Regions from separate parts of the Homo sapiens genome. Here region 2 is linked to region 1. Evidence: promoter capture Hi-C in human tissues and cell types (Jung and others, 2019). All regions are on one chromosome and are shown on one strand. The core of a region is centred on a gene start or on the middle of the fragment in contact, and the rest is flanking DNA. Distances in the headings are between cores, read along the strand shown. Region 1 holds the start of HPDL (4-hydroxyphenylpyruvate dioxygenase like). Region 2 overlaps ZSWIM5 (zinc finger SWIM-type containing 5).

What was found. Contacts are between HindIII fragments. The study calls those that stand out against the background at their distance.
Region 2: a fragment that was not itself captured here is called in contact with the fragment with the promoter of HPDL in region 1 in 1 of the 25 tissues and cell types used here (adrenal gland).

Annotation. Positions count from the first base shown.
Region 1 is chr1:45,323,570-45,329,954 of GRCh38, forward strand. HPDL (4-hydroxyphenylpyruvate dioxygenase like) reads left to right here and starts at 3,326. Exons shown (of 1, transcript NM_032756.4): 1 at 3,326-5,141. The coding sequence starts at 3,580. The coding sequence ends at 4,695. MUTYH (mutY DNA glycosylase) reads right to left here. Exons shown (of 16, transcript NM_001048174.2): 16 at 5,673-5,868. The coding sequence ends at 5,737. RefSeq lists a silencer at 328-622 and enhancers at 3,358-3,407, 3,418-3,667, 4,428-4,537, 5,886-6,385. The HindIII fragment of the contact is 17,678 bases long and covers 1-6,385 here.
Region 2 is chr1:45,174,314-45,180,698 of GRCh38, forward strand. The region is part of intron 1 of ZSWIM5 (zinc finger SWIM-type containing 5); the gene reads right to left. Among named protein-coding and RNA genes, the nearest start is that of ZSWIM5, 29 kb to the right of the region's middle. The HindIII fragment of the contact is 4,739 bases long and covers 755-5,493 here.

The sequences.
Region 1 (6,385 bases), core at 2,076-4,575:
AGCCAGGATGGTCTCGATCTCCTGACCTCGTGATCCACCCGCCTCGGCCTCCCAAAGTGCTGGGATTACAGGCGTGAGCCACCGCGCCTGGCCTAATTTTGTATTTTTTTTAGCAGAGATGGGGTTTCACCGTGTTGGTCAGGCTGGTCTTGAATACTTGACCTCAAGCTATCCACTCGCCTTGGCCTCCCAAAGTGCTGGGATTACAGGTGTGAGCCACTGCACCTGGCTGCCCCCGTCCTTTTTATCACTATAGAGTCTGGACTGACGGAGCAGGAGCACTGCCATCTTGGACAAGCACTGCCATTTTAAGTTTTGCCTTGATCAAAAACTGCCTAAATCCAAAGGGCATCAGCCTAATGGCTAAGGTCAGCATGACCATAAACCACAAATGACATCTCTGACCAGAAACGTTCCAAGCCCCTCCCCAGCCAGAGACATGCCAGCCCCAAGATAACCTCCCCTTCGGCTGGAGAGGTGTCAGCCTCAAGATAACCTCCCCTCCAACCAGAGACATTCCAACTCCACCATAAACTTCTCCCTGACACAGAAACATTCCAAGCTCTCTCCAATAAATACTGTTAGTCTGGGCCAGACGCGGTGGCTCACGCCTGTAATCCCAGCACTTTGGGAGGTGGAGGCAGGCGGATCATGAGGTCAAAAGATTGAGACCATCCTGGCCAATATGGTGAAACCCGTCTCTACTAAAAAAAATACAAAAATTAGCTGGGTATGGTGGTGCGTGCCTGTAAGTCCCAGCTACTTGGGAGGCTAGCAGGAGAATCGATTGAACCCGGGAGGCGGAGGTTGCAGTGAGCTGAGATCTCGCCACTGCACTCCAGCCTGGTGACAGAGTGAGAATCCATCTCTAAATAAATAAATAAATAAATAAATAAATAGTCTGTAAGAGAGAGCACTCCTGACTGAAATCAGCCAGAAGCCCCTCTCAGGTTTGATTTTTGAGCTGCTTTTTGTGTTTCTTTCCTCTTTCTTTAACTCTTACTGTGACTTTGAACGGAATGGGAGGCAGATTGGCCCTAAGCAGTTCCCAGCTTGACTTTTCCTTTTAGCTTAGTGATTTGGGGCCCCCAAGATTTACTTTCCTTTCTTACTACCCAGGATTCCTTGGGGTGAGCTGCTCATTGAGTAGGCTGCCTAGCCTTTGGCCCATGCCAGTGAAGCCCCTGTCCCCATCTCTCTAGTAGGCCACACAACACCTTCTGGGAGGTACCACTGGCATTGTATCATGAGATAAAATAAAACAATAACTAAATAGCCAGGCATGGTGGTGTGCACCTGTAGTCCCAAGCTACTTGGGAGACTGAGGTGGAAGGATTGCTTAAGCCCAGGAGTTGGAGCCTGCAGTGAGCTGTGATCATGCCACTACACTCCAGCCTAGGTGACAGAGTAAGACCTCATCTCTAAAAAAACTTTTTTCTTTTCTTTTTTTTTTTTTTTGAGACAGAGTTTCTCTCTTGTTGCCCAGGCTACAGTGCAATGGCATGATCTTGGCTCACTGCAACCTCCGCCTCCTGGGTTCAAGTGATTCTCCTGCCTCAGCCTCCCGAGTAGCTGGGATTACATCTAATTTTTTGTATTTTTAGTAGAGATGGGGTTTCACCATGTTGGCCAGGGTGGTCTTGAACTCCTGACCTCAGGTGATCCGCCTGCCTCAGCCTCCCAAAGTGCTGAGATTACAGGTGTGAGCCACTGTGCCCAGCTCTGAAAAACTTTTTAAAATAAATAAATATTAGAATATGTGGGAAAATAAAATTAATTAAAAAAAAAAACAGTAACTACAATAGCAACAGCTACTATTTACTGAACACTTACTCCACCTCACTTAATCACAACTCTTTGAAGTAGGTACTATTATTTCCATTTTTACAGATGGGCAAATTAAGGCTCAGAGGCGTTAAGCAACTTGCCCATACAGACAGTAAGTGTTGCTGGTGATTCAAACCCAGGTCCGTCTGGCTTTTGGAACTCATGTCCTCACATTCACTGGTCTGCAGAGTAGCACCAAGTACCTTTTACCACCCTGACCAGCTCCTGGGTACTGCCCTCCTGCCTGCAGGCCTGAACACCATGACATCCAGCTAGCCCCTGTCCCCTATGACATCCTTCTCCCTCTTGCCAATGAAACCCAGTAGATCAGGCTGCCTGACAAAAAAATTTCTTGTGATGCCTTGGACTGTGGCATTCATCCTAAATGCCTCCCTAACAGCATGGCCCATTGCTCCTCTAAGAGTCTGGCTCACACTCTTACTGAGTTTTTGCTTATGCCCTTTGCCCTTCTTGGATGCCCTTCCCTAACCCTTCAAGGGCCACTCAGTTGAAGTTCCAGAAGACTACAAATTCCTCAATCCAGTCATCTCACACAATTCTGGGTTTCAGAGCCAGAAGTGCCCCCACCACAGAAATCTCTGGCTCAATGCCAAGTCAGGAAGCTGCAAAGAGCAAGGAGGGCCTGTGTTCCAGTCCTCAAAGGATGGGGAAGGGGAATGACAGCCAGGCAGCTGTTCCTTTCAGATCCCGAACCGTCAGATTTTTCCTCCAAATCTTGCTTGGGACAAGGGGTTAAATGATGTTGACAGAAGGGTGATTGAAGAAAGAGACAGGACTGGTTGAGAGATTGCCCAACACTTTGGGAGGCTGAGGTGGAAAGATGGCTTGAGCCCAGGGGTTTAAAACCAGCTTGGGCAATATAGCAAGACCCCATTTCTAAAAAAAAAAATTATTTTTAATTAGCTGGGTGTGGTGGCGTCCGCCTGTGGTCCCAGCTATTTGTGCACTGAGGCAAGGAAAATCGCCTGAACCCAGGAGGTGGAGGCTGCAGTGAGCTGTGATTGTGCCACTCCAGCCTGGGTGACAGAGTGAGACCCTGTCTCAAAACATATAAACGTGTGTGTGTGTGTGTGTGTGTGTGTGTGTGTATTCCAGGGAACATTAAGACTTAGAGGCAAACTCCAGAACTTAAAGAAAAAACATGAAAGTGCTAAAAAATTCCGTGCTTGTGGAGAGAGAATTCCAACTCTTTCCCTGAACCCGGGCTGAGTCCCTTCGCTGTGAGGTTGGGGGGATGAGTGGGAGCCCAGTGCCTGGCGCCGAGTGAAGGCAGCCATTGTGAGTTCCTGGGCTGGGGAAGGGAGGCTCAGTGCCCAAGGATGTGACCAGGCGTGAGGCCCGGGGAAAGAGCAGCGCGGCGACCCCGCAGTATCCGAGGCGACAGGGTGTGGGGGAGGGGGTGGGGAGTCAAAGGCGGAGTCACGGGCTCCGCCCTCTTTCTCCTGCTTGGCGCGAGCACAGGCACCGCGTGGTTCTCACAACCAGCAGCTCGGCTCACTGAGACCCGGTGGTCCAGACGCTGCTCCTGGCTGGGGTGGCGCTGCAGGGAGAACCGCGAGCTCTCAGGGGTCGGCGGGTGACTTCTTTCCGGAAGAAAGCGAGGAACGCGCTCTGCGGGGTGAGCCGGACTCCCCAACTCCGGACGATCAGCCCAGGACTGAGAGCCCCGAAGTCCCCAACCACAAGTAAGCGGCCCCAGAAGGACAAGTCTAGGTCGCCGTCCAGAGCGCCATGGCCGCGCCCGCCCTTCGTTTGTGCCACATCGCCTTCCACGTGCCCGCCGGGCAGCCCCTAGCCCGGAACCTGCAGCGCCTCTTCGGCTTCCAGCCCCTGGCTTCGCGGGAGGTGGACGGCTGGCGGCAGCTAGCCCTGCGCAGCGGCGACGCGGTCTTTTTGGTGAACGAGGGCGCAGGGTCTGGAGAGCCGCTGTACGGCCTGGATCCGCGTCACGCCGTGCCCAGCGCCACAAACCTGTGCTTCGACGTGGCGGACGCCGGCGCTGCAACCCGGGAGCTGGCAGCGCTGGGCTGCAGCGTGCCTGTCCCTCCCGTTCGCGTGCGGGACGCGCAGGGTGCCGCCACTTACGCCGTGGTCAGCTCGCCTGCCGGCATCCTCAGCCTGACCTTGCTGGAGCGCGCTGGCTACCGCGGACCCTTCCTACCCGGCTTCAGGCCCGTGTCCTCTGCGCCTGGCCCCGGGTGGGTCAGCCGCGTGGACCACCTGACCTTGGCCTGCACCCCCGGCAGCTCCCCCACACTTTTGCGCTGGTTCCACGACTGCCTGGGCTTTTGCCACTTGCCGCTGAGCCCAGGTGAGGATCCCGAGCTGGGCCTCGAAATGACAGCAGGGTTTGGGCTTGGGGGACTGAGGCTTACAGCCCTGCAGGCCCAGCCGGGCAGCATTGTCCCCACTCTTGTTCTGGCTGAGTCCCTTCCGGGGGCGACGACACGACAGGACCAGGTGGAGCAGTTCCTGGCCCGGCACAAGGGGCCAGGCCTGCAGCACGTGGGGCTGTATACGCCTAACATTGTGGAGGCCACTGAGGGGGTGGCAACTGCTGGAGGCCAGTTCCTGGCTCCCCCTGGGGCATACTACCAGCAGCCAGGAAAGGAGAGGCAGATCCGAGCTGCAGGGCACGAGCCTCATCTGCTTGCTCGACAGGGGATCCTGCTAGATGGTGATAAAGGCAAGTTTCTGCTTCAGGTCTTCACCAAGTCCCTTTTTACTGAGGACACTTTCTTCCTGGAGCTGATTCAGAGGCAGGGGGCCACTGGCTTTGGTCAGGGCAACATCAGAGCTCTGTGGCAGTCCGTACAGGAGCAATCTGCCAGGAGCCAGGAAGCCTAAGGATGCCCAGGGCTGGGTGCAGCCAGCTGTCCTGCAGCTCTGGGGAGACCAGCACAGAACTGAGGAACATCTGCAGGAGGCCCAACTAGTGAAAGGCTTTGCCTCCGGGGGGCAGGTGTGACTTCCATTTCATCAGTGCCTGCCAGAAGCTGTGTCTCTCATTGGGCTCCAAAGAGGTGGGATTTTTTAAAACTAAAACATTTCTTATATACAGTCTATAATAAATATGTAAGATACAAAGAACAATAAAAGAATTACACACTAGGAAATAGAACATAACCAATACTTTCGAGTCCTCCCTGTGTCCCGCTGTGATTCTATTTCCTCCCACCCACTCCTCAAATCCTGTCATTATTAGCCCTTTGCTTTTCTGTATTGTTTCACTCCGTATGTAACATAACCCTAAATAAATTATTTCGTATTTGAGGTAGGAATTTAAAACAGAACAAATCTTCTCCTGTGCTTCCTCTCCCCCTAGGGAGCGACCACTCAGGTGGGGAGGGGCTGGGTGAGAGTTGAGCCCAACTACCTACTCCAGAGTGATGCCACCACTCCAATTAGAGCTGACCTGAGACGTAAACAGAGGGTGTTGTGTGTCAGCCACTGGCAGGTTCTCCCTGTAGCTGCCTTGCCTTTCTCCTGGGGGTTGGAGGGCAGATCAGTCTGGACAGAACACCCCCACTCCAACCCCATCTGCCCGGGGCTGGCTGGGAGTTCAGCCAGAGAAAGTCAGAACCAAGCAGAACGTCACCACTTTTCTGGGTCCCTCCCTCAGATATAAGGGGTGAGGGGGCTAGGGAGAGGGTGGAAGGCTGTCCAAAATAGCTACAAAAGGGCGGGCGTGGTGGCTCATGCCTGTAATCCAAGCACTTTAGGAGGCTGAAGTGGGAGAATCACTTGAGGCCAGAATCACCTGAGTTCGAAACCAGTCTGAGCAACATAGCGAGACCCCCATCTCAAAAAAATACAACATAAAATAACTACAAAAATAAGCACTTTACTAACAACAGGATTCTCAGGGAATGGGGGCTTTCAGAGGTGTCACTGGGCTGCACTGTTGAGGCTGTGTGCATCAGTGGAGATGTGAGACCGAAAGAAATTATCCAGGACTTGCTGGCCCATGCGGGGCTTTTTCCGACTGCACGGAGAGGACACCTGGGACCTTTTGGAACCCTGTGAAAAAATGGAAGGAGGGAGGCCTTGTAGTTGGGGGAGGGGGAGCAGAGAATCCTCTCCTTGTCCTCTCTCCCTTTCCCCGACTCTACTGATCTAGCTAGGCTTAGCCTGGAATGCTGTAGAGCTTTCATCCTGCCTCAAGTATCTGCCCCATCAATCAACCCTCCAAAAGGCTGCCTGAGGGAATCGAATTGTCCTAAAAATGCAAATCTGACTCCTCTCTCCTCCACCTAAAATGAGTCAGCAGCCTAGGGCTCACACCCTGACTGACCCAGCAGGCCCTGCTGACCTTTCCAGCTAAACCAACTGCTCACAGCTCCTTGAGCACTGCAGCCTGCACTGGGCTCCACCTTTGCTCACACTACTCTTGGGACTGGAAAGAACATCGCTACGGTTGATTCCCCTCCCAAACCTGAAGAAAAGGATTCATTTCTAGGACGAAGATTACCAGCTGCTTCCTCCAAACAGCCTTTCCTGATCCGTCTCCCAATTAGAACTGATAGCTCCCATGGAT
Region 2 (6,385 bases), core at 1,874-4,373, 150 kb before region 1:
AAAAGTGATCTTTTAATAAAAATAATTGGAGATTTTTAATGTAAGCTAAGAAAAACATATTCTCTTAAACAATTCAAAATAAATAGGTAATTGGAGGAGTACTCACTATTAATCAAAGTTCATTCAAGTTCATTATCAGCTCAGTGAGGTGGCTCACACCTGTAATCCCAGGACTTTGGGAAGCCGAGGTGGGCGGATCACTTTAGGCCAGGAGTTTGAGACCTGCCTGGCCAACATGGTGAAACCCCAACTCTACTAAAAAAAAAAAAAAAAAAATTAGCTGGGCATGACACACCCAATACAAAATACTCTCCTACTCGGGGAGCTGGGACAGGAGAATTGCTTGAACCTGCAAGGTGGAGTTTGCAGTGAGCTGAGATCGCGCCACTGCACTACAGCCTGGGCCACAGAGCAAGATTCTGTCTCAAAAAAAAGAAAAAGATTATCATATTTATCCCTTTTTATTTTGAAACAATCTCAAACTTACAGAAAAGTTGCAAGTACAGTTCAAATAATTTTTAAATGAGTTATTGGAGAGTAAGTTGTCAACGTACTGCCTTATCACCCCAGAATACTTTTTTTGTGTATTTCCTTCAAAGATATTCTCCTACAGAACTATAAAAATCATGAAAATCAGAAATCAATACCATAACATTATCATATAATGCACAGGCCCCATTCAACTGTTGCCAATTGCCCCAAAAATGTCCCCATAAGGATCCAGTCCAAAGTCATACAATGCATTTAGTTTTTATGTCTCCTTATTCTCCTTCAATCTGGAACCACCTGTAGTCTTAACTTTCTGACTTCTGATACTTACGAAGACTTCAGGCTAGCTATTTTGAAGAATGTCCCTCAGTAGTGCCTGTTATTTCATCATGATTAGATTCAGGTTATCTATCTTTGGCAGTAATATCATAGAAGTGGAGCCATGTTCTTATTGTTTCCTATCAAATGGCACACAATTTTGATTTCTCCCATCACTGGTGAGGTTAACTTTGCTCATTTGATCACAGTAGTGTTTGCCTGGATTCCTCACTTTAAAGTTACCTTTTTCCCCTTATAATTAAAGTATCTCATGGGAACCATATTGACATTATGCCAATATACTCATCAAATTTTCAACTTACTCTTTCTAAAAATATTTTATTTTGGAGACAGGGTTTCATTCTGTCGCCCAAGCTGCAGTGCAGTGGAGCAATCCCAGCTCACTGCAGCCTTAACCTTCTGGGCCCAAGCGATCCTCCCACCTCAGCCTCCTAAAGTAGCTGAGACCACAGGCATGCACCACCATGCCCGGCTAATTTTTTAAAATTTTTGTAGAGACGGTGTTTTGCCATGTTGCCCAGGCTGGTCTCAAACTCCTGGGCTCATGTGATCTTCCCTCCTCAGCCTCCCGAAGTGCTGGGATTATAGGCATGAACCATGGCACCTGGCCTTTAAAAAAAAAAAACCATTGACACAATGAACTCATGGGTTTCTATTTCATTCAATGGGTTGGTTATATCCATTATTATCATTATTTTGACACTCAATTCATCCCATATTTGGCTAATGGGAATCTCTTCAAAGCTGGCTTTTGTATCCTTTTTGATGTGTTGCTATAATTCTTTAAGAACCTCCCTGCTTTCTGGCACAAGAACATGTTCAAGGCTCATTTGATACTTTCTCTGCCTCACCCCTAAATTCAGCCATTTCTCCAAGGAGGCTTTGTTCCTTTTATCGGAGAAAAGTACTTGGAAACCAAGATATGGGCATTAGGTGTGCTTATTGCTATTGGGATATTACTGCTCTAAGGCCCTCTCAGTTAACTGAATGCCATATATATATATAATATATATTATATATATATTCCAATATATACTAAAAACCATGAGTTCACGTGGGTATCTCCAATTACAATCCAAAACCCAGAGTTCATTCACCTTTTCTCCCTGGTCTTTATCTTTTCTTATCTTATTTTATTTTTCAGACGGAGTCTTGCTTGTTGCCCAGGCTGGAGTGCTATGGCACAATCTTGGCTCACTGCCACCCCCACCTCCTGGGTTCAAGCGATTCTCCTGCCTCAGTCTCCTGAGTAGCTGAGACTACAGGTGCATGCCACCACACCGAGCTAATTTTTCTATTTTTTAGTAGAGACGGGGTTTCGTCATGTTGGCCAGGCTGGTCTTGAACTCATGACCTCAGGTGATCCACCCGCCTTGGCCTCCCAAAGTGTTGGGATTACAGGCATGAGCCACCGCGCCCGGCCTGGTCTACATTTTAGCTACTTTTTCTGATAGTGAGAAATTTGGCTCCTGTTATCCTTAATTGATTTACTTAGTTGATCAATATCTATAAATAACCAATCTTTCATTGCCACCACAGCTCCTCCCTGCCAATAAGGACATTCTTCTCACTGTGCTCAAGCTCAAAAAACCTGCACCTACTGCTGCCACCCCCTGCTATGCCCACTTCACCCCATCTGAACACTAACACCCTATGGCTCTACACTCCCCTTCACCCCTATACAAAAGTCATCCTCAACCCTTTCAGACTCTGACATCTCAAATTATATCCCCCTTCATGTGGATACCCTCCTCACCCCACTTTGGCTCTAGCACCCCATGCTAGGCCACTGCTCCAGTTGGGCTCCAATATACCCTTTCAGGCCACTGCTACTATCCCTTCTTCCCATCTCACTTCCTTTTCTCTTGCTTCTCCCAGGTTTGGACTAAAGTTTTCAGGAAGGGAAGTCAGAAGAAAAGGGAATGATTAAGGATTCAGGAACTAGAGAGAGGAGGGAAGAGAAGAGCAGTATCATTGTATGACACCTCATAATTAGCTATTTTGCTATACAGTGATTATGTTTCTAAAACGTATGCAGAAAATAAGGAATAAACACTAAAGAAAATAATAGGAAAGAAGAAAAGAATATGACACTGAAAAAGAAAAAAATTTCTTAAATGTACTGAATGCTTGTTCTTATTTATTTTACACTTCCAATCATTAAGAGTTGTTATAGACTCTAACAAGGCTATGAACTATGGCCAACCCCCTTTTCCACATTGGAACTGAAAAACCTACACCATATACACAGGGAATTTAAGGTACTTAAGTTTGCAGGTTATACAGAGTGGTAACAGCAATAGAGCAATTTCTACAATTCCTACAACCCAAACTGTGAAATCAATAATGGTGAAAGTTACAGAGGGGTATGCAAAATATACCTTTAATAGCAAAATATTTCCCAGGTCTGAATCTCATGAAATGAAAGATGGGCATAAAAGGGGATTCTCTCTGCTGCTTTATAAGACAATTCGGGGAGATTGAGCAATCAGTTGCTACTTGATACCAAGCAGTAACCAGCTCTATGACACATCCTTATGTTGCCTTACCCTCCTTCCCTGTCTCATTTCATTTTCTCTCACTCTTGCTTCCCTGGGATCATATTCTTTAATAACACAATAGCACATTAAAAAGCATTTCCCAGTCTAATGCAAGCAGAAAAATCCCTTAATACAATGCATTCTATGGCACAAACAACACTGAGTTTTGTGACTTGATAAGGACCAAGGATTCCAGATTGGAAAGGAAGATAAAAGTTTATCTCTATTTGAGTAATAAATTCATTCCACAAGGGTGTTGGCCAGGCTGGTCTCAAACTCCTGATCTCAGGTGATCTGCCTGCCTTGGCCTCACAAAGTGCTGGGATTACAGGCGTGAACCACTACACCCGGCCTTATGTGATTTTATCTAAGGGACTTAAGCATCCTCAGGTCCTAGGGGGTTGTGAAACCAAAACCCCACGGATAGCAAGGGACAACTGTATCTTCAAATTAGACAAATGGCGCCGGGCACAGTGGCTCACACCTGTAATCCCAGCACTTTCGGAGGCTGAGGCAAGCGGATCACCTGAGGTCAGCAGTTGGAGACCAGCCTGGCCAACAGGCTGAAACCCTGTCTTTGCAGAAATGAAGGGATAGCTGGGTGTGGTGGCGCATGCCTGTGGTACCACCTACTCGACCGACTGAGGCTGGAGAGTCGCTTGAACCTGGGAGGTGGAGGATGCAGTGGGCCAGGATGGCGCCACCACACTCCACCCTGGGTGATAGAGTGAGACTCCGTCTCAGAAACAAAACAAAACAAAAATTAGACAAATGCTACATTAATGTTTGGGTGGTCAGATTCTACTTTGAAGTCTGAAGTTTGCAGATATGCCTATAGATTTTTGGAGTTTACCACTTTCCTATTCTGTATCATTAATGTAATATCTTAAATTACTATATATTTGACCATTTTTCTGTATTTAGTAAGAAATTTGCATTTCTGATTTGATATAACAAAAGTTTTAATGTAATTTATATTAGATTTTGCATTTTTTATCACTGTTATACTTTAACGTAAATGACTGATTTAATTGTATTAGTATTGTGAACAATCATGTGGAATGTTTTGAGACAGAGTACTCTATTGGTGAATATAATTTTATGGCTTTTTTCACTTAGTAAGAACCTTTCTATCAGTGTGGAAAACTAAGAAAACTGCTCTCTGCTGTATAATCTGGCATTCATTGTAGATTAAAGCTTATTTTTCTGTGAATAAAACATTCAATAAGATACTATTTAAAATTAAAATAAATAAATAAATGAATGAATTCCACAAGGTTAGGGGTACAAGATCAACATACAAAAATCAGTTATATTTCTATCTATATACACTAGCAACAAACAATTAAAAAATGAAATAAAGGAAACAATTCCATTTATGATAGCATGAAAAAGAAAAAAATATCTTAGGAGTAAATCCAACCAAGGAAAATAAGTCATTCTACCAAAAAGACACATACGTGTACCTGTATATTCATTACAGCACTATTCAAATTAGCAAAAACATAGAATCAGCTCAGGTGCCCACCAACAGTGGGTTGAATAAAGAAAATGAGGTACATCCCATGGTACATATACACCATGGAATACTACACAGCCATGTACTTCACAAAAACATGGATGCACCTGGAAACCATTATGCTATGTTAATTAATGCAGAAACAGAAATTCAAAGACTAAATGTTCTCACTTACAAGAAGGTGCTAAACACTGGGCATATGTGGTTGTAAAAATGGGAACAACAGACACTGATGAATACAACATAGGGAAGGGAGAGGGTTAGGGTTGAAAAAAAATACCTATTGGGTACTATGCTCACTACCTGGGTAACAGATTCATTCGTACGTACTCCAAACTTCAGCACCGTGAAATATTCCTTTGTAGCAAACCTGCACATGTGCCCCCCCAATTCTAAAATAAAAGTTGAAAAAAGATAAAACTTCAACAAAACATTGTTGAAAGAAATTAAGATCCAATAAATGGGGAGACATCCCATGTTCATGGATCAGAAGATGAGATGTTGTTATGATGGCATGGTAAACAGAATAATGCCCCTCACCAAATATGTCCACACCCTAACATCCAGAACCTGACAAAAGGGACTTTACAGATGTGATTAAGATTCTTCAGATGTAGCAATTATCCTGGATTATCTGAGTGGGTTCAATGTAATCACATAGTCCTTATAAGAGGGAGGCAAGAGGCTTAAAGTCAGAGACAGGAAATGTGACAATGGAAGCAGAGGTTAAAATGATATGGTATAGGGAGGAGCCAAGATGGCCGAATAGGAACAGCTCTGGTCTACAGCTCCCAGTGTGAGCGACACAGAAGACGGGTGATTTCTGCATTTCCATCTGAGGTACCGGGTTCATCTCACTAGGGAGTGCCAGATAGTGGGCACAGGACAGTGGGTGCAGCGCACTGTGCGCCAGCCGAAGCAGGGCGAGGCACTGACTCACTCGGGAAGCCCAAGGGATCAGGGAGTTCCCTTTCCTGGTCAAGGACAGGGGTGACAGACGGCACCTGGAAAATCGGGCCACTCCCACCCGAATACTGCGCTTTTCCGACGGGCTTAGGAAACGGCACACCAGGAGATTATATCCTGCACCTGGCTCGGAGGGTCCTACCCACGGAGTCTCACTGATTGCTAGCACAGCAGTCTGAGATCAAACTGCAAGGCAGCAGCGAGGCTGGGGGAGGGGCGCCTGCCATTGCCCAGGCTTGCTTAGGTAAACAAAGCAGCCGGGAAGCTCCAACTGGGTGGAGCCCACCACAGCTCAAGGAGGCCTGCCTGCCTCTGTAGGCTCCACCTCTGGGGGCAGGGCACAGACAAACAAAAAGACAGCAGTAACCTCTGCAGACTTAAATGTCCCTGTCTGACAGCTTTAAGGAGAGCAGTGGTTCTCCCAGCACGCAGCTGGAGATCTGAGAACGGGCAGACTGCCTCCTCAAGTGGGTCCCTGATCCCTGACCCCCGAGCAGCCTAACTGGGAGGCACCCCCCAGTAGGGGCAGACT